Linked DNA regions of Homo sapiens: regions 2, 3 and 4 are each linked to region 1. The links are contacts of gene promoters, found by promoter capture Hi-C in human tissues and cell types (Jung and others, 2019). All regions are on one chromosome and are shown on one strand. Each heading gives the region's core, a stretch centred on a gene start or on the middle of the fragment in contact. The rest is flanking DNA. Distances are from core to core; before and after follow the strand shown.

Evidence for each region. The method cuts DNA at HindIII sites, captures the fragments that hold promoters and counts their contacts. A contact is called where the count stands out against the background at its distance.
Region 2: a contact is called between a fragment that was not itself captured here and the fragment with the promoter of HIP1R in region 1, in 1 of the 25 tissues and cell types used here (bladder).
Region 3: the fragment with the promoter of EIF2B1 here is called in contact with the fragment with the promoter of HIP1R in region 1 in 1 of the 25 tissues and cell types used here (spleen).
Region 4: a contact is called between the fragment with the promoter of RILPL1 here and the fragment with the promoter of HIP1R in region 1, in 1 of the 25 tissues and cell types used here (spleen).

What each region holds. Positions count from the first base shown.
Region 1 is chr12:122,832,057-122,837,110 of GRCh38, forward strand. HIP1R (huntingtin interacting protein 1 related) reads left to right here and starts at 3,401. Exons shown (of 32, transcript NM_003959.3): 1 at 3,401-3,587. The coding sequence starts at 3,495. It overlaps LOC124903040 (a long non-coding RNA gene), which reads right to left and starts at 3,177. Exons shown (of 2, transcript XR_007063501.1): 1 at 3,118-3,177; 2 at 2,499-2,782. RefSeq lists an enhancer at 3,003-3,052 and silencers at 3,303-3,542, 3,713-3,912. The HindIII fragment of the contact is 9,768 bases long and covers 241-5,054 here.
Region 2 is chr12:123,396,020-123,401,593 of GRCh38, forward strand. It overlaps KMT5A (lysine methyltransferase 5A), which reads left to right. Exons shown (of 8, transcript NM_020382.7): 5 at 326-413. Among named protein-coding and RNA genes, the nearest start is that of KMT5A, 15 kb to the left of the region's middle. The HindIII fragment of the contact is 4,904 bases long and covers 1-4,668 here.
Region 3 is chr12:123,629,915-123,634,965 of GRCh38, forward strand. EIF2B1 (eukaryotic translation initiation factor 2B subunit alpha) reads right to left here and starts at 3,772. Exons shown (of 9, transcript NM_001414.4): 1 at 3,631-3,772; 2 at 2,431-2,532; 3 at 483-619; 4 at 255-371. The coding sequence starts at 3,643. It overlaps GTF2H3 (general transcription factor IIH subunit 3), which reads left to right and starts at 3,915. Exons shown (of 13, transcript NM_001516.5): 1 at 3,915-3,958. The coding sequence starts at 3,946. RefSeq lists an enhancer at 3,799-3,988. The HindIII fragment of the contact is 12,225 bases long and covers 1-5,051 here.
Region 4 is chr12:123,531,194-123,536,895 of GRCh38, forward strand. RILPL1 (Rab interacting lysosomal protein like 1) reads right to left here and starts at 2,526. Exons shown (of 7, transcript NM_178314.5): 1 at 1,981-2,526. The coding sequence starts at 2,289. MIR3908 (microRNA 3908) reads left to right here and starts at 5,216; the gene lies at 5,216-5,341. RefSeq lists an enhancer at 1,527-2,344 and silencers at 2,560-3,249, 3,269-3,454. The HindIII fragment of the contact is 25,082 bases long and covers 1-5,702 here.

The DNA.
Region 1 (5,054 bases), core at 2,151-4,650:
CAAATGAGGTATTTGTTTACTCACTCTTTCAGCCCTTCATTTGACATACATATTGAACATTGCTATGTGCCAGGTGCCCTGCTAGGCACTGAGTACATAAAACTGAGTAATACAGGGTGGCCCTCTAATAGCTCAAAATCTTACCTACAAGCACATAAAGTACAATCCCTTAGAGATGTGTTAGGAGAGTGCTCTCAGGTCCTAAACAGCAAGCCTGAGGTAGTATAGTACTGAAAGTCATAGACCACAAAATGTAGTCCAAATGGCATGGGTGTTGCGGGCACTGGCCTTGAAATCAGGCACATCTGGGTCTGGATCCCGAATGCAGCGTTTACCAGTTGTGTGAACCTGGGCTAAACTCTCTGAACCTGAGCTTGTTTGTTGGTCTGTAAAAAATACCATCAAGAGGCCAGGTGCAGTGGCTTCGGCCTGTAATCCCAGTACTTTCAAGGTGGGCGAATTCACTTGAGCCCGGGAATTTGAGACCAGCCTGGACAACTTAGCAAGACTCTGTCTCTACAAAAAAACTTTAAAAATTAGCTGGGCATGGCCAGGCGCAGTGGCTCATGCCTGTAATCCCAGGACTTTGGGAAGCCGAGGTGGGTAGATCACGAGGTCAAGAGATCGAGACCATCCTGGCCAACATGGTGAAACTCTGTCTCTACTAAAAATACAAAAATTAGCTGGGCGTGGTGGCGGGCGCCTGTAGTCCCAGCTACTTGGGAGGCTGAGGCAGGAGAATTGCTTGAACCCGGGAGGCAGAGGTTGCAGTGAGCCAAGATCGTGCCACTGCACTCCAGCCTGGTGGCAGAGTGAGACTCCATCTCAAAAAAAAAAAAAAATTAGCTGGGCATGATAGTGCATCCCTCCAGTTCCAGCTACTTAGAAGGCTGAGGTGGGAGGATCACTTGAGCCCAGGAGGCAGAAATTGCAGTGAGCTATGATTATGCCACTGCATTCCGGCCTGGGTAACGAAGCCAGACCCTGTCTCAAAAAAAATAAATAAATAAAAATAAAGTTGTTGATGCTTTATTTTTTATTTATTTATTTTGAGAGAAGGTTTCACTCTGTTGTCTAGGCTGGAGTGCAGTGGCATGATCTCAGCTTACTGCAACCTCTGCCTTGCAGGCCTAAGTGATCCTCCCACCTCAGCCTCCTGGGTAGCTGGGACTACAGGCACGCCATCACGGCCAGCTAAGTTTTTCGTATTTTTTGGTAGAGATGGGGTTTCACCATGTTGCCCAGAATGGTTTCGAACTCCTGAGCTCAAGTGATCCACCTGCCTCAGCCTCCCAAAGTGCTCGGAATACAGGCGTGAGCCACTGTGCCGAGCCTCATCAACAACTTTAAAGAAGAATAAGTGAGATACTGTTTAACAGATGCTGAGCCTGGTGCCCGGCACAGTAATAGGCTCTGTGATTATTTAAAAAGCCAGTTGCTAATGGGAAGTCTCTGTGGCAGATGTGCTAGACCTACAGGGGCTGTTGCCTGGTTGAAAAGGGATGCTGTATATGCGTGAAGGGTCACAGGAGAACCACTTTTGTTCCGTGTGGAAAAAGGAGTGTGAGAAACAGCTGGAGTACCGCAAAAAGCCCCTTTACTGTGGTCTTTATTAGAGCACAGCTATCAACTAAGTTGACTAAGTTACATATGAAGGGTTTAGCCCAGTGCCTGCCAAATAATAAGCATTCAGTACATATCAGCTATTGTGATTCTACCGTTATTCTGATAAAGAAGCTTTTTAGTGATTGGAATTAGAGAAAACAGGATTAATTTCTCCTTTTGGTGCAGTGACAGGAGAGTCTTGGCAAATGTTATCTTTTGGGGTCAGCTCTAGCTCTTGGGCTGGAGGGTGAGGAATCAGTTAAAGAAAAGGGTCCCTGGCGGGGTGTGGTGGCTCACGCCTGTAATCCCAACACTTTGGGAGGCCGAGGCGGGCGGATCACCTGAGGTCGGGAGTTCGAGACCAGCCTGACCAACACGGAGAAACTCTGTCTCTACTAAAAATACAAAATTAGCCAGGCGTGGTGGCACATGCCTGTAATTCCAGCTATTTGGGAGGCTGAGGCAGGAGAATTGCTTGAACCCAGGAGGCGGAGGTTGCGGTGAGGTGAGATTGTGCCATTGCACTCCAGCCTAGGCAACAAGAGTGAAGCTCGGTTAAAAAAAAAGAAAAGAAAGAAAGAGAAGAAAAGAAAAGAAAGAAAGAAAGAGAAAGAAAGAAGAGAGAGAAAGAGAGAAAAGAAAGAAAAGAAGGAGGAAGGAAAGGAAAGGGAAAGGGAAAGGAAAGGAAAGGAAAGGAAAGGAAAGGGTCTCTGACCTCAGACAGGTTACAGTCTCACTAGGGAGACAAGGGTCAGGATTACGTGGGCGTCATTTTCCTCCTTACAGGCAGGCGGTGCCTCTCCCTTCAAAAGCAAGGGACCTTTATGCATGATTCCACATCTGCATTCCGATAGGAAAGGGAAACAGCAGAAACACAATACCCATCTGAGAGCTACGCTTAGAGAGGACTCTGGGCTTTTATTTATTTTTTTACTTCAGTCTTGTGACCAGTAATTTTAAGGGAAAGCCAATAATAATGTTTTTAAAAAGCCTCACGCCACCCCTGGCGGCATCTCCTCGGTGTACTTTGCTGTTCAGATCCGCCTGCCTTCTGTGCCAGCCTAACAGCGCCCGGCCTCAGCCCCCATTGTCCCTGGAGCTGGCGAGGTGTCCGGTTGCGGAGCCGGCGGCGTCTCTGGAAATGCATCCTGCATCCCCGCATGGATAACAGCTGCAGCTATGTCAGAATTGCACAAAGAGGGGAGAGTGTCATTGTGTGCCTTTTGACACATACATTAAGACCAAAAAGGAAAAAAAGCGTCTATCTGTGCTGCCACCGACCAGACTCATGGAGGCCAGATTTTCTCCAATTAACCAGATCTTGCCCTGGTGCAGACAAGACTTAGTGAGTTCGGAGGAGGGGTGGGGAGAGGGAATTGGCTGGGGTCCCTACCCTGGGTGGAAGGAGGAGGGAGGGGTTCCCCCTCCCCCTTCCCCTACCCTCCCCTCCGGGTTTAGGGAGGGGATTAGAGGTGGGGAGGAGCTGGGGGGGCGTTTGGCCTGTGCCCCAACCTTGTGAGTGAGGTGGGGGTTGGAGGTGTGCGGGGGGCGGGGCGTGTGCCGGGGTCGCCGCGGGATGGGGGGTTGGGGATGTGCGGGGAGAGGCGCGTGTCCCGAGATCGCGGGGGGTGGGGTTGGAGGTGTGCGGGTGGAGGGGCGCGCCCTGGAGTTGGGGGCGGGCGAGGCGTTTGCGGGCGCGGGGGGCGGGTTTGGAGGTGTGCGGGGGAGGGGCGTGCCCTGGAGTTGGGGGCGGGGCGAGGCGGGCTCCTCCCCGGCGGGCGGGCCCGGGCGCGGCGCGGTGGCCTCGCGGTGCCTAGGCTGGGGCTGCCGGACCGTGAGGCTGTGAGTCGCGCGGACGGAGCCGGACAAAAGCGGGCGGCGGCGGCAGGATGAACAGCATCAAGAACGTGCCGGCGCGGGTGCTGAGCCGCAGGCCGGGCCACAGCCTGGAGGCCGAGCGCGAGCAGTTCGACAAGACCCAGGCGAGCGGGCGGCGGGCGGCGGGCGGCGGGCGGCGGCGGGCGGGCGGGCAAGCGGCGTCCCTGACCCCTCACGCGCGAACGGCTGGGGCCCGGGAGGCGCCGGCCAGGGGCGGGGGACGGCGCGGGGGCAGGGCCTGTGTCCGCCCGGGCTCTCCGAGAGCTCCGCTGCCGCCCCCCGCCGGCCTCCGCGGCCCGAGCCGACCGGCGCGCAGGTGAACCGGAAGCCGCGCTCCCCGCTCCCGCCGGGCGCTCGGGCCCAGAGGCGCCGGGGCTGAGGGGGCCGGGGTCAGGGTGTGCGCGGGCCGGGAGCGCCGGAGCTGAGGCGGCGGGGGACGGAGATGGGGCCGGGGTTGGGTGTGCGCGAGCCCAGCGCGCCGGGGGTCGAGGGGGCTGGGGATCCAGGTGCTCCCGGGGCCGGCGCGGCCCGACTGGGGTCCCCGACCTTCCGTGCCGCTCCTTGCCGGCTCCTGCCCCCGTCTCCTACCCCCTGAAACCGATGCCCCCACGGGCAATTTCCTTAAAGGAAATTCCTTAAACTCCCAGCTTCCTTCTCTCGTGAGCGGTTTCCCAGGGCTGCACAGTCTCCTATTATTTGCTGGGTGAAAAGCTTCTCGTATGTCGCCAGACTTGTTTGCCCGAGCGCTGCCCACGTATAAATAGGTGCACACCCCCTCATTAAATACCGGCGCCCGACAGACAGAAACTTCCTGGGGCTCCCTTCCTGCGCCTCCCACGCTTGTAACTCTTCCAGATGATGCCTATCCTGGGAAGGCGTTAGAAATGAAATAAGGGCGCGGGTGTGCGTTTTGTACTTGTGTTTGTGCCGGGGACCCACGATGCAGACGTTGCTGCGTTTCTGGTTTCCTGTTGCTTTTTATTTTACAAACTCTTGAAGTGCTCTCAGGCTTGGGGGATGGGCGGTGGAGGGGGGCATACTTGTTTATTTGCCAAAATAAGTCAACCAAGACTGAAATGGCTGAAAAATTTTACTCTAGAGATAAAGGAAGCCAGAGGACCCCTCCCACTCCTGTCTAAAGCAGGTTGGTGACATTTGCGTTTGTGGCGGCTATTTGCAAGTTCCGTCCCACTTGTCCTTGCAGAGAGCTATGACTTCTGCGGTTGCCTTCACATCTAGTTAGCACACGCACTCTACAACAGCTTTCGTTTTGAAATGAGAGAGAACGCAGGGAGACCTTCTAACCTTTGTGCTTGGGATTGACCCAGAAAGCGATAATAAATCCTGAGGATATCAAGGCTTTAGAAATGCGAAGTGCTGGAACCCAGGTGGCTGCAAATTACCAATTTAGCCTTGTGATCTTCATCACCATCAACTGGTTCAGCCCGGATAGCCCGTCATTTTAAAAAAATTTAAAGTCACCAATACATAATTAATTGTGCCAAGAACTTGTAGATCATAGGGAGAAAACCTGAATTGGCAGACATATCTGGATGTTGTCAGAAACTTTG
Region 2 (5,574 bases), core at 967-3,466, 560 kb after region 1:
CCTTTTTTTAGAGACGGGGTTTTGCTGTGTTGCCTGAGTTGGTCTTGAACTCCTGGGCTCAAGTGATCCTCCCGCCTCAGCCTCCCAGAGTGTTGGCATTACAGGCATGAGGCACTGCGCCCAGCCAGCAGCCCGTCTTTGAAACTCCTCTGAGGCCCTCATGGGCAGGTGACTGAGTGACCTGCAGGCTCCAGTGGACAAAGGTGTTTAAGTGACATCATCTCCAAGGAGCTGTGTGCCTCCTCGGTGTGTGCCTTCTAAGGAGCTGTGTGCCTCCAGGTTTTCAGTCCTGATATTTATTTTCTCCTCTTCCCCTCTTACCCAGAGCTCAAGGAAAAACGCAACAGAATCGCAAACTTACGGATTTCTACCCTGTCCGAAGGAGCTCCAGGAAGAGCAAAGCCGAGCTGCAGGTAGTCACGTGCTTTAAATTCCAGTTTGTGGAGGGGCAGGGTGGCCCACCAAGCAGTGCTTGGCGTGTGCGTATGTGTGTGTCCTCAGCCTTGTTTTCGTCATCTTGGAGCAAGTCTCTTGGCCCCTCTGGACTTGGTTTTCTCCTGGATCTATCGGGGATCCTCACAAAGCTTGTCCTGCCTTTCTGCTGGGGTCACTGCAGGGCTTGGTTAAGACACTTGTGTGAAGGAACCTTGTGACTTGTAGCATGTGGCAGGGAAAGCCAGGTGTGACTCTGAAGGTGGATTTTCCAGGACTTGTTGGCAGAGCCATTGGGAGCCTGGGACTGTGGGAAAGGCTGCCTGTTCTTTCAGAGGCTTTTCTTGTCTGTTTTCTGGAAGTTTCCATGTTGTGGCCCAGGGTGTTAAACAGCAGTGGCTTGGGGCCACTTGCTGGTTGCGTAGCCTTGGGCCAGTCACTTACCCTGTCCATGCCTTGGCTCTCCAGTCTGTAAAATGGTACAATAATGTAGTACCTGCTAGAGCTGTGGTGAGCATTCAATAAATGTGGTCATGCAAGAGGAACCCTTAGAACCATGCTTGGCACTCAGTAAGTGCCAGCTAACTGTTACTATCGCCACCTCTGCTTCCTCAGTGTTGTCACTCCCGTCTGCTCTTTCCCACGCTGCTGCCATACTAGGAGCCTGCAGACCAGTGAGCAGCACCGGCTGGAAGGCCAGCTGGCCTATGCGGGCCTCCGCTGCCATGTTTGCAGAGGGTTGAGCTATGCGGCAGGCAGTCAATATTTGCTGCAGTGAGGTGTGGTTATTGCCTTTCTGTGAAGGAAACGCAGGGCATGGCAGGTCCCTCTGCTCTTCCCCCTCAGGGACACCTGGGGCTGCCCCTCTGCTCTCCCTCACCCCCACAGTGACCACCGGGTTGGGAGAGGTGCTCAGGATTGCATCCTACACAGAGAGGTGGGGACCCCGGCTTTGGCAGTTTCAGCATTTCAGCCCTCATGCGGACTCCTTCAGCGTTCTTGATGTTAAATGCGCAGATACACAGTGGTCTAGTATTCTTTCTCTTTTTCTTTTAATTGATGAAGCTTCATTTAAAAAAAATTTTTAAAAAGGTCCATTTTCTTCCCCACAGAGAGCAGCTTTGGTTTTATTGCCTGAAAAAGGCAATGTCTTTCAGCCAAGAATGAGCTGTTTAAAACATTTGTCAGCAGTGGGAGGCTGTGCTAGGTCACTTTTTTTTTTTTTTTTTTTTGAGATGGAGTTTTGCTCTTGTTGCCCAGGCTGGAGTGCAATGGCGTGATCTCGACTCACCGCAACCTCCATCTCTTGGGTTCAAGTGATTCTCCTGTCTCAGCCTCCTGAGTAGCTGGGACTACAGGCATTCGCCACCACGCCCAGCTAATTTTGTATTTTTTTTTTTTAGTGGAGATTGGATTTGTCCATGTTGGTCAGGCTGGTCTCGAACTCTCGACCTCGGGTGATCCGCCCACCTCAGCCTCCCAAAGTGCTGGGATTACAGACGTGAGCCACCGTGCTCGGCCTGCTAGGTCACTCTTAAAGACAGCACTGGGCCAGGTGCAGTGGCTCACACCTGTAATCCTAGCACTTTGGGAGGCCCAGGTGAGCGGATCATCTGAGGTCAGGAGTTCGAGACCAGCCTGGCCAACATGGTGAAACCTTGTCTCTACTAAAATACAAAAATTAGCCAGGCATGATGGCAGGTGCCTGTAATCCCAGCTACTTGGGAGGCTGAGATGGGAGAATCACTTGAACCCAGGAGACGGTAGTTGCAGTGAGCCGAGATCGCGCCACCGCACTCCATCTTGGGTGGCTGAGCAAGACTCCGTCTCAAAAAAAAAAAAAGACAGCACTGCAGATGGTGAGGTGGTGCCAGACCACAGAATCCCAGACACCTCCCAGCCAGGGTTGGAGCTGCGGTGTGCCCACACACAGGGCCTCTGCTGAGCGTCCACCAAGGGCTGCTGTGGACTTTAGGGTGGGGGGAGCCGAGTTGGCCTTGTTAATAAGAAGCAAGAGTTTGTGCTGGGCAGAGTGAAGGCTGCGATGGGACAGGATGCAGGTCTGCTAAATCTTGCAGCAGATGAGCAGAAGGGAAGAACACACTTGCTTCCCTAAAGCACAGTCTGCAAACACAAGAAAGCTCGCCCTGTTCCTGGACCGGGAGCCGTGCTTTGCCCCCCACTGTTTGTGTTGGCTCTGCTGAGTGCAGCCATGCAAGCTGTTGCTGGCCAGGGCAGGGAGGCCATAGCTGGCCGGGATGACGTGGCTAGAGCTGGTCAGGGTGGAATATTTTCTGACTGCACAGATAAAGCCCAAGAACGGGACAGCTGGGGCTCATCTGAAGGGTGGGGTCAGTCCTGACTTGACTGCCATGCTGGGCCCAGGCTGTGGATCCAGGAGGGTGGGGCATAATACAGCCTGTTGTTGGCCAGATGGTCTGGGGTGAAACTGCAATTCAGAGCCTCTTATATACCTCCACTGAGGCTGAAGACAGCAGCCAGGGCGGGCCTAGCGCCAGGGCGTGGGTCCTGGGCAACAGGGTGGGATCAGGGCTGCTGGATTTGGACACAAGGTGGGCCTTGGAGAGATGCCCTATCCACCAAGTGCTTCACTGCAGGGGCCCCTTGGCCGGCCAGCCTGGCTGTGGGTGGGGTGGCAGCCAGCAGCGGGGCAGGGACCATGCCTCTTGGCAATGGCTGGGCTTCCTCATGCCCAGCTCGGCCCCAGGGCCAGATGTGCAAGCAGCCTGCTGATTCCGCTTGGGAAGGTCCCCTCCTTCCTGGTCACAGGCGCTTCTCAACTGCCCTAGTTCCAACCTTGTATCCCTCCCACTCCATCTCCTTCTAGGCCCATTTGTGGGTTCCTGCCAGAAGTCCCTTTAGAAAACCCAGGGCTGGTTGTTTGCAGGCCCCAAATTCCAGGCCTTTGGGAGACTCAGCCTCCCTGGCTTTGTGCCGGGGCATCTGGCCTGGTCCCAGCTTCCCTCTGCGCATCTCCTACCTGCCGTGTTTGGTCCCAGCAGAAAAACCCCCATTCCACTACCCCGGTCTTTCCATGATCACTCCCGTTTACATGGGCCCCCGTACTTCTCAGCACTCTCTGCACACTTGCAATGAATGGGTCACACAGCAAGGTGGTTATGTGTGTGATGGTGGTGGTGTTGCTTTGAGGGCCTGCTGTGTGCACTGTTCTAGACCAGGAGATTCCACAGTAAACTAGACCAGCCCGTAGGGCTTGTTTTCCAATGGGGAGTAATTAACAACAAAAAAGACACCAGCTACTTGGGAGGCTGAGGTGGGAGGATTACTTGAGAACAGAAGTTCAGTACCAACCTGGGCAACATTGTGAGACCCCATCTTTTGTGGGTTTTTTGTTGTTTTGTTTTTTTCGAGACAGAGTCTCACACTGTCACCTAGGCTGGAGTGCAATGGCGCGATCTTGGCTCACTGCAGCCTCCACCTCCCGGGTTCAAGTGATTCTCCTGCCTCAGTCTCCTGAGTACCTGGGATTACAGGCGCCCACCACCATGCCCAGCTGATTTTGTATTTTTAGTAGAGACAGGGTTTCACTGCGTTGGCCAGGCTGGTCTCAAAATGCCTGACCTCATGATCCACTTGCCTCGGCCTCCCAAAGTGCTGGGATTACAGGCGTGAGCCACTGAGCCCGGCCGTGAGACCCCATCTTAAAAAATAATTAAAAAGGCCTCCCAAGTAGCTGGGACTACAGGCGCCTGCCACCACGCCCGGCTAATTTTTGGTGTTTTTAGTAGAGACGGGGTTTCACCGTGTTAGCCAGGATGGTCTCGATCTCCTGACCTTGTGATCCGCCCGCCTCGGCCTCCCAAAGTGCTGGGATTACAGGCGTGAGCCACCGTGCCCAGCCAAAAAGTTTTTAAAATGTTTTTATTTTGCAATTTTTTTTTTTTTGAGACAGAGTCTCACTCTGTAGCCCGCGCTGGAGTGCAGGTGTGCGATCTCGGCTCACTGCAACCTCCACCTCCCAGGTTCAAGCAATTCTCCTGCCTCAACCTCCCAAGTAGCTGGGATTATAGGCGCTTGCCACCACGCCCAGCTAATTTTTGTGTTTTTAGTAGAGACAGAGTTTCACCATGTTGGTCAGGCTGGCCTCAAACTCCTGACCTTGTGATCCGCCCACCTTGGCCTCCCAAAGTGCTAGGATTACAGATGTGAGCCACCGCGCCTGGCCAATAATTTTAATTTTATAGAAAAGTTGCAAAGATAATACAGAGAGTTCCCCAGACTCCTTACCCATCTTCTCTCACTTAAGTTACTCTGGTGAATTTGTCACAGCTAAGTAACAACCAACATTGGTATATTACTGTTGGTTGAAGTTTTTTTTTTGTTTTTTGTTTTTTGTTTTGAGACAAGGTCTCACTCTGTTGCCCAGGCTGGAGTACAGTGGCATGATTATGGCTTACTAACCTCCGCCTCCTGGCCTGAGACTCCCAAGTAGCTTGGATTACAAGTGTGCACCACTATGCCCGGCTGATTTTTGTATTTTTAGTAGAGACAGGGTTTCGTCATGTTGGCCAGGCTGGTCTCGAACTCCTGACCTCAGGTGATCCACCTGCCTTGGCCTCCCAAACTGCTGGGATTACAGGCATGAGCCACTGTACCTGACCAAGTTTTGTTGTTGTTTTTTTTAAATCTATTCCACCAATATATATCTTTCTTTTTTTTTTTTTTTTTTTTTTGAGATGGAGTCTTGCTCTGTTGCCAAGGCTGGAGTGCAGTGGCGCGATCTTGGCTCACTGCAAGCTCCGCCTCCCGGGCTCACACCATTCTCCTGCCTCAGCCTCCCGAGTAGCTGGGACTACAGGTGCCCACCACCATGCCCGGCTAATTTTTTGTATTTTTAGTAGAGATGGGGTTTCACCATGTTAGCCAGGATGGTCTCGATCTCCTGACTTCGTGATCCGCCCGCCTCGGCCTCCCAAAGTGCTGGGATAACAGGTGTATATCTTTCTTTTTTTTTTAACCTTCTTGACCCTTATCTTTCATATCTTTTAAGTGGAACATTTTAGTCCATTTATGTTTAAGGTTAATATTGATATGTGAGGTTTTGTTAGGTATATTACTATTAAATAAGTTTATGGGAAGGTTTTTTTTTGTTTTTTGTTT
Region 3 (5,051 bases), core at 2,522-5,021, 800 kb after region 1:
CTAAGTGCCAGGCACAATACCAAGCCCTCACACCCCTTGCCCCTTACATGTCTTGCCTCATTTAATCCTCACAACAACCCAAGGAGGTAGGTACTATTGTCATCCTTATTTAACAGATGAGAAAGCTGCACAGACAGGTTAAGTTACTTGTTCAAGTCTCCACAGCAAGTGAGTGGCAGAGCCCGGATTTTACCCCAGGCAGTCGGACTCGAAACCGTTGCTCCTCCTTACCACCATGATGATTATCCACTCACCGCTCCATCTTTGATGAAAGTATGGCACAGATCTGCAATTTTGTTTCTTGACAGTGATATTCTCCTGAGAAAAAGTTCTCCCCGCTCAATCATGATCTTTTTACATTTGGAGTAATCCTAGGAAGAAAAGAGCAAACTGAGGGGACAGGGAAGATCCAGTTAATGCTGAGAATGTCTGTCACTAAACAGAGAAGTGGAAAGGTAACCCCAGGGAGAACAGGCACTTACGGAGTATTCCAGGGAGGCAAGACTGATGAAGCGGAGGAAGAGCTCCCCGCCAGAGGACACTGCCACAGAGGAGTCCACACCACACAGGGTTTCTATGGCACTGGTGAGATTCGCCCTCAGACCCTGGATTGTCTCCCCTGGAATGATCCAACAAGGAATGTGATGTTCACATTAGGGCCACAGCCCCGACCTGTATCTTCAATTCATTCATTCATTCAGTGAATATTTACTAGGTACATACTATATACCAGGCACTATTCTAGATGCTAGGGATACATCAGTGAACAAGACAGGTAGGGTTCTGCTGTGATGGAGTTTTGATTGTAATAGAGGAAGCGGATAGTAAACAAGCACACATAGAAATAAAGCTGGGTGGCTGGGCATGGTGGCTCACGCCTGTAATCTCAGCACTTTGGGAGGCTGAGGCATGGAAAGACATTAAGTAGCAGCGGCAGATGAGGTCTGCAAGGTGGTATGGGTGAGGCTAAGGTTGTTTGGATGTTATTTTAAGAACAATGGGAAGACACTGGAGGTTGCCTTAAAGACATGTGTCTCTAGGCAAGCCCTTCAGATTAAAGGCTGCATTATTATTTTGCTTATACAAGATTTCATGCTATACCCAGATGCTTACATTTAGGGTGCTGAATTAGGGGATCACAATAAATAATACTAATACCAGAATTTATTCTGGAATATTCCCTGTAGCATCTGTACAGAATCTGGCACAAGGTGGAGGCCTAATAAACACTTATAAAGCTGAACTGCTACTGAAATTTACGCATCATGGTTAACACAATATAACATAGTCACTCTCGATTCAAAGTCTGTTTCACTTATGAAAGGGATCCTTTTCATGACAACGTAAGAGCTCTCTCCAGATTGAAAGGTCTGAAATGAAGGCAGAAGCTGAGCTTGGAGCTGTATTACTACTTTATGCAGGCAAACATGCATCTCTCACTTTCTACATTTCTAAGAGTCATTAGAAGACTTTCCTGGCCGAACATGGTGGCTCACGCCTGTAATCTCAGCACTTTGGGAGGGCGAGGCGGACGGATCACCTGAGGCTAGGAGTTTAAGACCACTGTGGCCAACATGGTGAAACCCTGTCTCTACTAAAAATAAAAAAATTTGGCCGGGCCCGGTGGCTCACGCCTGCAATCCCAGCACTTTGGGAGGCCGACATGGGCGGATCACGAGGTCAGGAGATCGAGACCATTCTGGCTAACAAAGTGAAACCCCGTCTCTACTAAAAATACAAAAAATTAGCTAGGCATGGTGGCGGGCGCCTGTAGTCCCAGCTACCTGGAGGCTGAGGCAGGAGAATGGCATGAACCTGGGAAGCGGAGCCTGCAGTGAGCCAAGATGGCACCACTGCACTCCAGCCCGGGTGACAGAGCGAGACTCCGTCTCAAAAAAAAAAAAAAAAATTTTGCCAGGCGTGGTGGTGCATGCCTGTAATCCCAGCTACTCAGAAGGCTGAGGCAGGAGAATCGCTTGAACTTGAGAGGCAGAGGTTGCAGTGAGCCGAGATTGTGCCATTGCACTCCAGCCTGGGAGACAAGAGCAAAACTCTGTCTCAAAAAAAACAAACGGCCGGGCACAGTGGCTCACACCTGTAATCCTAGCACTTTGGGAGGCCAAAGCGGGCAGATTGCCTAAGCTCAGGAGTTCGAGACCAGCCTGGGTAACATGGTGAAACCCTGTCTCTAAAATACAAAAAAATTAGCCGGACAAGGTGGTGCACACCTATAATCCCAGCTACTCAGGAGGCCAAGGCAGGAGAATTGCTTGAACCCAGGAGGCGGAGGTTGCAGTGAGCCAAGATCTCGCCACTGCACTCCAGCCTGGGTGACAGAGTGAGGCTCCGTCTCTTTAAAAAAAAAAAAAAAGAAAAGAAAAAAAAGACTATCCTAAGTCCCAGAGTGTTAACAGATGACTCTCTATATACCTTTATCTCTCTTCAAGAACTCCAGCAACGTCCGGATGGCAGCCACTGCTGAGGCCATGTCAGGATCTTCTTTCATCTGAGACTTAAAGTATTCAATTAACTCTGGAAAAAGGGAAAAAAGTGATTCACCTAATTCATTTAGCAGCCTATAAGGCAAGAGAGCTTGTTAATGACTGTTGACTTTAAGAAGCAAACAATTTAAAAAATACTTTCTTTTTAGGGTATTTGGTTTCAGGGATGCAATAAATGTTGATGGGAATAGAGAAAATACCACTTTGCTGTTTGCAAGAGCTCTTTTTTATTTTGAAAAAGCTACTGGTGGCCGGGCGCGGTGGCTCACGCCTGTAATCCCAGCACTTTGGGAGTCCGAGGCGGGCGGATCACGAGGTCAGGAGATCGAGACCATCCCGGCTAAAACGGTGAAACCCCGTCTCTACTAAAAATACAAAAAATTAGCCGGGCGTAGTGGCGGGCGCCTGTAGTCCCAGCTACTTGGGAGGCTGAGGCAGGAGAATGGCGTGAACCCGGGAGGCGGAGCTTGCAGTGAGCCGAGACTGCGCCACTGCACTCCAGCCTGGGTGACAGAGCGAGACTCCGTCTCAAAAAAAAAAAAAAAAAAGCTACTGGTGTGCAAGGCCTAAAAATTAAGCCCGAGTAAATGATGATGAAAAGTCATTCTCTCTTCAGCCTCTTTGGTCCTAAAATCTGAGAGGATCCCAGAGTCAACCATCTTGCCAATTTCTCCTGCACCCCTCCAGACAGTCTATGCTAATACATGTCTATTCACATACACATATATGTTACAAATATTATACATGGAGTTCCACCCACTCCCCTTTATTTCTTTACATGAAAAGTGTATTAGTTTGCCCTTGTTTTTCACTTAATAACCATACTAGATGAGCACATCAAATATGCCTTATTCATTCTAATTTTAATGACAGATCCAACAAGGCAGGAAGGAGACTGGCACTGGGAAGGAGCGTATGTGTGGGAGGGATGCCTGCAGATACTGCCAGGGCGCATCCCTGAAAACAAGAGCAGCGCGAGGGATTTAGTTGTGACTCTGGAAACACAACCAGCGGAGCAGCCTGAAATTCAAAAGAAATCTCTTCGGGAGCTCAGCCTGGATGTGAGAGGTTGGGGGGACCCCTGAACGGCGCTGCTGTAGCCTAGCAGCCCTGGCCTGTCTTGATTTACCCTTGTCGTCCATGGCGTCCTCCTGCTGCGGAGCCCCAGGGGACCCGAGCCGCCCGCGCTGTCTCGAACGGGTCCGCCGGCCGCGCCGCCTGCGAGCCAGTCTGACAGCGCGCTGCACACCTCCGCACCCCACTTCCGGCGCACTTCCGTACCCCTCTTCCGGCGCACTCCCCGCACTCCACTTCCGCAGATTAGGGGGCTGGCACGAGTCACAGCACCTCGTGCGTCACTTGGCGGCGCCGGACGTTGGGCTGCGCAGGATTTGAGACGCTCCCCTGACCACCACTTGCTCTGCGCTGAGGTGCTGGGACAGCCATGGTTTCAGACGGTGAGGACCCTGCAGGGCGGGACTTCGACTCCGGGGCTCGGCTGTCTCGGTCCGGCTACGACTGGCCAGATGGAATGTGTCTTTTGGGCTGGATAGAATCCGTTTGGTCTTTAGAGGAGTAGCCAAGGCATTCAGTCATTCATTCAGTAAATAGTTTTGGATCGCCTCCTGTGTACAGGCATTATTTTCTGGATTTTAGCAGAGATCGTGACAGACAGGGGCCTTAGTGGAGGTTACAGTCTACTGGGTGAAACAGATGACAATAAATAAAAATAATTTCGGCCGGGTCGCACCCCGGTGGATTAGGCCTGTAATCCCAGCACTTTGGGAGGCCGAGGAGGGAGAATCGCTTGAAGCCGGGAGTTCGAGACCTGCCTGGGCAACACAGCCAGACCCCATCTCTACAAAAAAAATGAAATATTAGCCGGGCGTGGTAGCGCGTGTCTGTGGTCCCAGCTACGCGGGAGGCTGAGGCGGGAGAATCACTTGAGCCCAGGAATTCGAGGCTTCAGTGAGCTATTATGGCAGTACTGCACCCAGCATGGCCGACAGGGCATGACCTCGTCAATAAAAAATTAAAAAATAAATTATTTTTCAAAGGATGAAAAGAGCTATGAAGATGATGTAACAGTACGGTCCTAGTTACAATAGTACATTGTGACTAGGATTGAGGAGGAGCTGTTTTAGATAGGGGCCTAGGAAAAGTGCAGGATATTGAAACCGACTTGAATGATTATGTGAAGTTCTGGGGGAAGTGCACTTTAAGTGCATGGGCCCTGTGGCAGATTGAGCCACCAAGTTACACTGAGAAGGGAGAAATGGAGAGCTTGCGGGTAGAGGATGGTGGGGAGACTCATTCATACATTAAACTACCACATACAGAGTCAGATGTCTTGAAGATTTAAAAGGAGGCTAGAGGGATGAGATCAGAGAACCAGCCAGTTTCAGGTCATGCAGGGCCTTATTGGCCGTGATAGAGAAGTTGGCCTTTATTTTTAGGTGCAATACAAAGACATTGTAGAGTTTTAAGCCAGAAAGTGTTATGATCTGGTTTGCAATTTTAAAAGATCACTGTGGCTGTTGTGTGGAAAAT
Region 4 (5,702 bases), core at 1,276-3,775, 700 kb after region 1:
AGAATTGCATCCTTGATTTAGAGAGGTCATCCTCAATGTAAGTCAACAAGCCCTGGCCCTGAGCGCACGGTGTTCACTTCCCAGCTGAACACTTTCCAGAGGCAACAAGTGCAGCTGCTGACAATTCCATGTGACTTCAGACCTGGTGGCCTCCGATGGCTTCCAAGGATTTCTCCCAGCTCCCCCGCAACAGAACTAAAGAGCCCCAGTTGGGGGACAGTATAGGTGCCAGGACTTCTGTGTGATCTGGTCAAAGCCCCTTGGTCCCTGTTAATAAGAGGCGCCACACGAGAGAATTTCCAAGGTCCCTTGCCTCCTTGACCCTCTATGAGAGATGGAGGCCTCTAGGGTAGGAGTAGAGGTGCTTGGGGTGGGGACGGTTTCCTAATATGAGCCTGTGAGCACCTCAATGAATGTCTCTCCAGGCCTAAAAAGAATTTTAAGACTTGCAAAGCCCTTGCTATGGGCAGGCTCTGTCCTGAACACTTTATATGTATTTATATTAACTCTTTAAACCTCATCACATTCTAATGGGGGTACTATTACTATCCCATTTTAGAACTGAGGAAACTGAAGCACAGAGATGCTGGGTGATTTGCCCAAGATCACACAGCCTGCAAGTGGTAGGGTTTGAAACCAGGCTGTCTAGCTCCAAAGTCCTAGCTTCTAGGAGTCTTGAAATTAATTACAGGTCAAAGCATTTTCAGGCTCCCAGAGTGACCTCGGAAATGCTGCTCAACTCTTGGGAGCCTGAGTTTCCTTCCTGCCCCTAGGGCATAGGGACCCATGAGGACGAGCACAGTCAAACATGGCAATGGTGCTGTTACCTACCTGTGGGTCTGCCCTCAGGTAAAGGGTTCAGACCCAGCTTTGGCTATTTTACTCCAAAACACAGAGATCCATCAAAGTACACAATAAGGGATGGCCTGCCCCTGAGGTTCAGAGAGGCCATCTGTATTTCCTGAGGCTGAACAGCAAGCTGGAGACTGCTCAGGCACCCTGATCCCTCAAGGAAAGGTGTTTCCTCCCATTCTCAGTCTGAAGGGGCTGCCAAGAGCATCCCTGGCTGAGGTTAGGGCAGGAAACCACATGTCTTTCACTTCCTTTTCTCCAGAAACCTCGTCTGAACTCCAGGCCCAGTGGGGAGGCCCTGATTCAGAGAGACTCCTGATCACAGGGCAGAGGCTTAGCCTTAAAGCCACCCCAAATCATCCCTTTCCCCCAATTCAAACAGGGTGGGGAGGAGACACGGGGGCTGGGACTCTCTCACCACTAATTTGGGACAAATTGCTCCTCCCACTGTGACCCTCGGTTTCTTTATCTGTAAAATGAAGATAGTCTCTATAGAGTCCTGTGAGGATTAAGGATAAAATCAGAGGAGAGAACACGGGCTACCACAGGTTCATAAGCTAGGGGAGTCCCGGGAAGAAAGTTGCAAATATGAACCCGAAGACTAGGGGTCACGAAGCTCAGTGGCTGGAGGTCACATTCCCTTTGCTCTGGGGAGACTGGGGGGGGGGGGGATGAAGAAAGGGTCCTGGGCCTGATGTCACATCTTCTTGGTAACTCGGGAGGCCAAGAGGCTTATTTCATGTCTGGAAGAGAATAATATGTCTAAGCACTTAGCTTATATGGTCCCATTTAATTCTTCTAAGGTGGGTCCTATTATGATTACCATTTGACAGGTGAGGAAATAAAGCACAGAGAGGTTAAGTAACTTACCTAAAGTCACACAGCTATTAAACGGTAAAGGTGGGATTGGAACTCCAGAGAACAGCTCTTAATCTCTCGGGTGGTATCTGCCAGCCACCCCTGGTCGGGCAAAAGAAGGCCAGGGCCTCCCTCCCTCCCCACGTCGGGTCTCCTCTGGTCCGGTCCCTGAACACACACACGTGCGCACCCACAGCTGCCCAATGCGGAAGAGCCCTTGGGTCCCCGCGGTCCCACTGCCCGGACGGACAGACCGAGGCCGCCGCCCACCTTCTGGTGCTTGCGCTCCTTCTCGATGCGGTCCATCCTCTCCAGGCGCAGGCGGTCCAGCTCCAGGCGCAGCTCGTCCAGCTCGGGCGCGACGTGGTGGCGGCTGACCAGCACCTCCAGGATCTCCAGGACGCGCACGACCTTGGGCATGAGGCGCGCGATGGCCTCGCAGCCGTGCTGGTCAATGACCCGCTCGAACTCGTGGCCCACAAGCGACGCGATGTCGTACACGTCCATGACGGTCAGCTCGGCCACGTTCTTCTCCAGCGCCGACTCGGCCGCCAGCGCCGACCCCCGCTCCTCCTCCATGGCCACCCTCCTGGCCTGTCCCCCGCCCCGCAAACTCGTGCAACTCCCAAACTTGCCGCTGTCGAGGGCCGGGCCGGCCGGGCCCAGCCTGGGCCGCGGGCGGGCGCGCTCAGCGGGCGCTGGGGCGAGGGCGCAGCGGGCAGCGGGCGGCGGGCGCGGGCGCGGGCACGGGCGGCGGCGCGGGGTGTGCGGGCCCGGGGTCTGGGCGCCCGGCTCGGCCCGGAGCTGCTCCCGAGTGGGCGGCGGCGGCGGCGGCGGCGGCGGCGGCAGCGGGGAGGGCGCGCGCGTGCGCAGGCCCGCGGCGCCTCCCAAGTTGGGATCCGAGTTGCGCTCAATGGAGCCGGGCCGGGCGCCTCGGGGCGGTGCGGGCCTGAGGGGCGGCAGAGCGCGGGGCCGGAGAGGAAGGGCGGCCCGCGGCTCCTCCGGGAAACTTTGGCGGCGGCGGCTGCGAGGCCGGGTGATCGCTTCCCCACAGGGAGGCCGCGCGCCCCGCCCCAATCCCGGCCTGGCCAGGGGCGCGCCCGCTTTCCGCCGCCCGGGGGCGCCCCGGGGTACCCCCCCAAGCGCCGACTCCGCGGCCTGCACTCCGGGCCCCCCTCTCCAGCCGCCGGACCCGCGGCGCCCCTCACCCGTGCCCCGGCCGCCCCTCCCCCGCCCGGCGCTGACTCCTCCCACCACCCGGCCGCCGGGAGGGGTCCAGGCCGCCCCGGGAGAGGGGGCCGGGGGCGCTGGTCTCGCGGGACGATTCGCTGCTCCGGGTAGCGGCCCCGGCCTTGGAGAGGGATGGAGGGGTCACGAGGAGGTCCCCGGGCTGGGGCTCATCCCAGGAAGAGAACGGGGACCCCCCCCGGCCCGCAGACACTCCGCGCAGACCCGGCCACCAGGCGGACTTGCAGAGGCGCCCGGAGAGGGGCCGACGTGTCGAGGAATGCTGGATCCCCGGAGCCCCAGGGCGCGCCTCCCCGAGCCACATCCATCACTGGCTCCTTGTGACATGAACGCCACTTCACAGTAGAGCGAAGCCCGCTTGGCATTCCAGCACCACGAGTTCTCTTGTCCCAAGGCCCCCTGTCCATTTGGGCTGGCCAAATCCACTTGTCCATCAGACCCCCTCCCACTCCCGGGAGAACGTTTCCTGAACCCAGAACCCCATCCACCCTCCCCGCCCCCCACGCAGGAGTTAAGGACCCCCTTGCAAACTCACAGTCCCCTGCTTGCCCCATCAGGATTGCTCTTAGCATCCTGAGTTTTCACCGTGTGGTTGCAGGTAGGTTTCCACCGTCAGATCTTGGCTCCTTGAGGGAAGAAATCTTAATGCCCTTGTAGCCATAAAGCGCACCCCAACGTGGCACGTATTGATTAAAAATCTAAAAGTTGGCCGGGCGCGGTGGCTCACGCCTGTAATCCCAGCACTTTGGGAGACTGAGGTGGACGAGGTCAGGAGTTCAAGACCAGCCTAGCCAAGGTGGTGAAACCCCGTCTCTACTAAAAATACAAAAATTAGCCGGGCATGGTGGCGCATGCCTGTAATCCCAGCTACTCAGGAGGCTGAGGCAGAGAGTTGCTTAAACCCGGGAGGCGGAGGTTGCAGCAAGCCGAAATCGCGCCACTGCACTGCAGGCTGGGTGACAGAGCAAGACTCCATCTCAAAATAATAATATAATACAATAAATAAATAAATAAATAGTAAAAAAAAAAAAATTAAGGCCAGGCGGGGTGGCTCACGCCTGTAATCCCAGCACTTTGGGAGGCCGAGGTGGGAAAATTTCTAGAGCTCAGGAGTTCGAGACCAGCCTGGCCAACATGGTGAAACCACGCCTCTACTAAAAATACAAAAATTAGCCAGACATGGTGGCATGTGCCTGTAATCCCAGCTACTCAAGAGGCTGAGGCGCGAGAATCATTTGAGCCTGGGAGGCAGAGGTTGCAGTGAGCCAAGATCGTGCCACTGCACTCCAGCTTGGGCAACAAGAGCGAAACTCCGTCTCAAAAAAAAAAAAGAAAAAAAAAAAAGTAAAATAAAAAAATTAGCCAGACGTGGTGGTGAGAGCCTGTAGTCCCAGGTATTTGGGAGGCTGAGGTGGGAAGATCCCTTGAGCCTGGGAGGCAGAGGTTGCAGTGAGTTGAGATCACACCACTATGCTCCAAACTGGGCGACAGAGCGAAACTCTGTCTCAGAAAAATAAAAAATAAAAATAAATACTCCTGGCCACAGTGGCTCATGCTTGTAATCCTAGCACTTTGGGAGGCCAGGGCTGGAGGATCACTTGAGCCCAAGATTTCGAGACCAGCCTGGGCAGCATGGCAAAACCCCGTCTCTATTTAAAAAAAAGTCTGGTTGCAGTGACTTATGCCTGTAATCCCAGCACTTTGGGAGGCCAAGGGGGGCAGATCAGTTGAGGTCAGGAGTTCAAGATCAGCCTGGCCAACATGGTGAAACCTCATCTCTACTAAAAATACAAAAAAAAAAAAAAATTAGCCAGGCGTGGTGGCAGGCGCCTGTAATCCCAGCTACTCAGGAGGCTGAGGCAGGAGGATCACTTGAACCCGGGAGGCAGAGGTTGCAGTGAGCTGAGATCGAGATCGTGCCACTGCACTCCAGCCTGGGTGACAAAGCGAGACTCTGTCTCAAAATAAATAAATAAATAAATTAATTAATTAATTAAATAAAAATTACCCGACTCTGGTGGCAAGTGCCTGTAGTCCCAGCTACTCGGGAGACTGAGGTGGAAGGATGACTTGAGTCCCAGGGAGCAGAGGTTGCAGTGAGCTGTGATTACACCACTGCACTCCAACCTGGGTGACATAGGGAGACCCTGTCTCAAAAACAACAAAAAAACTCATACGTTATCTAGCACGGTGGCGTGAGCCTGTAGTTCCAGCTACTCCAGTGGGAGGATCCCTTGAGTTCAAGAGTTCTAGTCTAGCCTGAGCAATGTAGGTAGACTGTTTCTAAAAAAATAAAAAGTTAAAAAAATTTATGTTAACGTGTAATGTGTTTACTAATTTTTTTTTTTTTTTTTGGAGACAGAGTCTCCCTCTGTCGCCAGGCTAGAGTGCAGTGGCTCGATCTCAGCTCGCTGCAGCTTCGACCTCCCAGGTTCAAGCAATTTCCCTGCCTCAGCCCCCAAGTAGCTAGGATTACAGGCGCATGCCACCATGCCTGGCCGATTTTTTTGTATTTTTAGTAGAGAGGGGGTTTCACCATGTTAGCCAGACTGATCTCGAACTCCTGACCTCAGGCAATCTGCCTGCCTCAGCCTCCCAAAGTGCTGGGATTACAGGCATAAGCCATCCTCCCGGACTATTTTTTAATTAATATTTTTTAAAGCATCAGTTTAAATTTCTTTTCTTTTCTTTTCTTTTTCTTCTTCTTCCCTTCCCTCCCCTCCCCTCCCCTTTCTTTCTTCCTT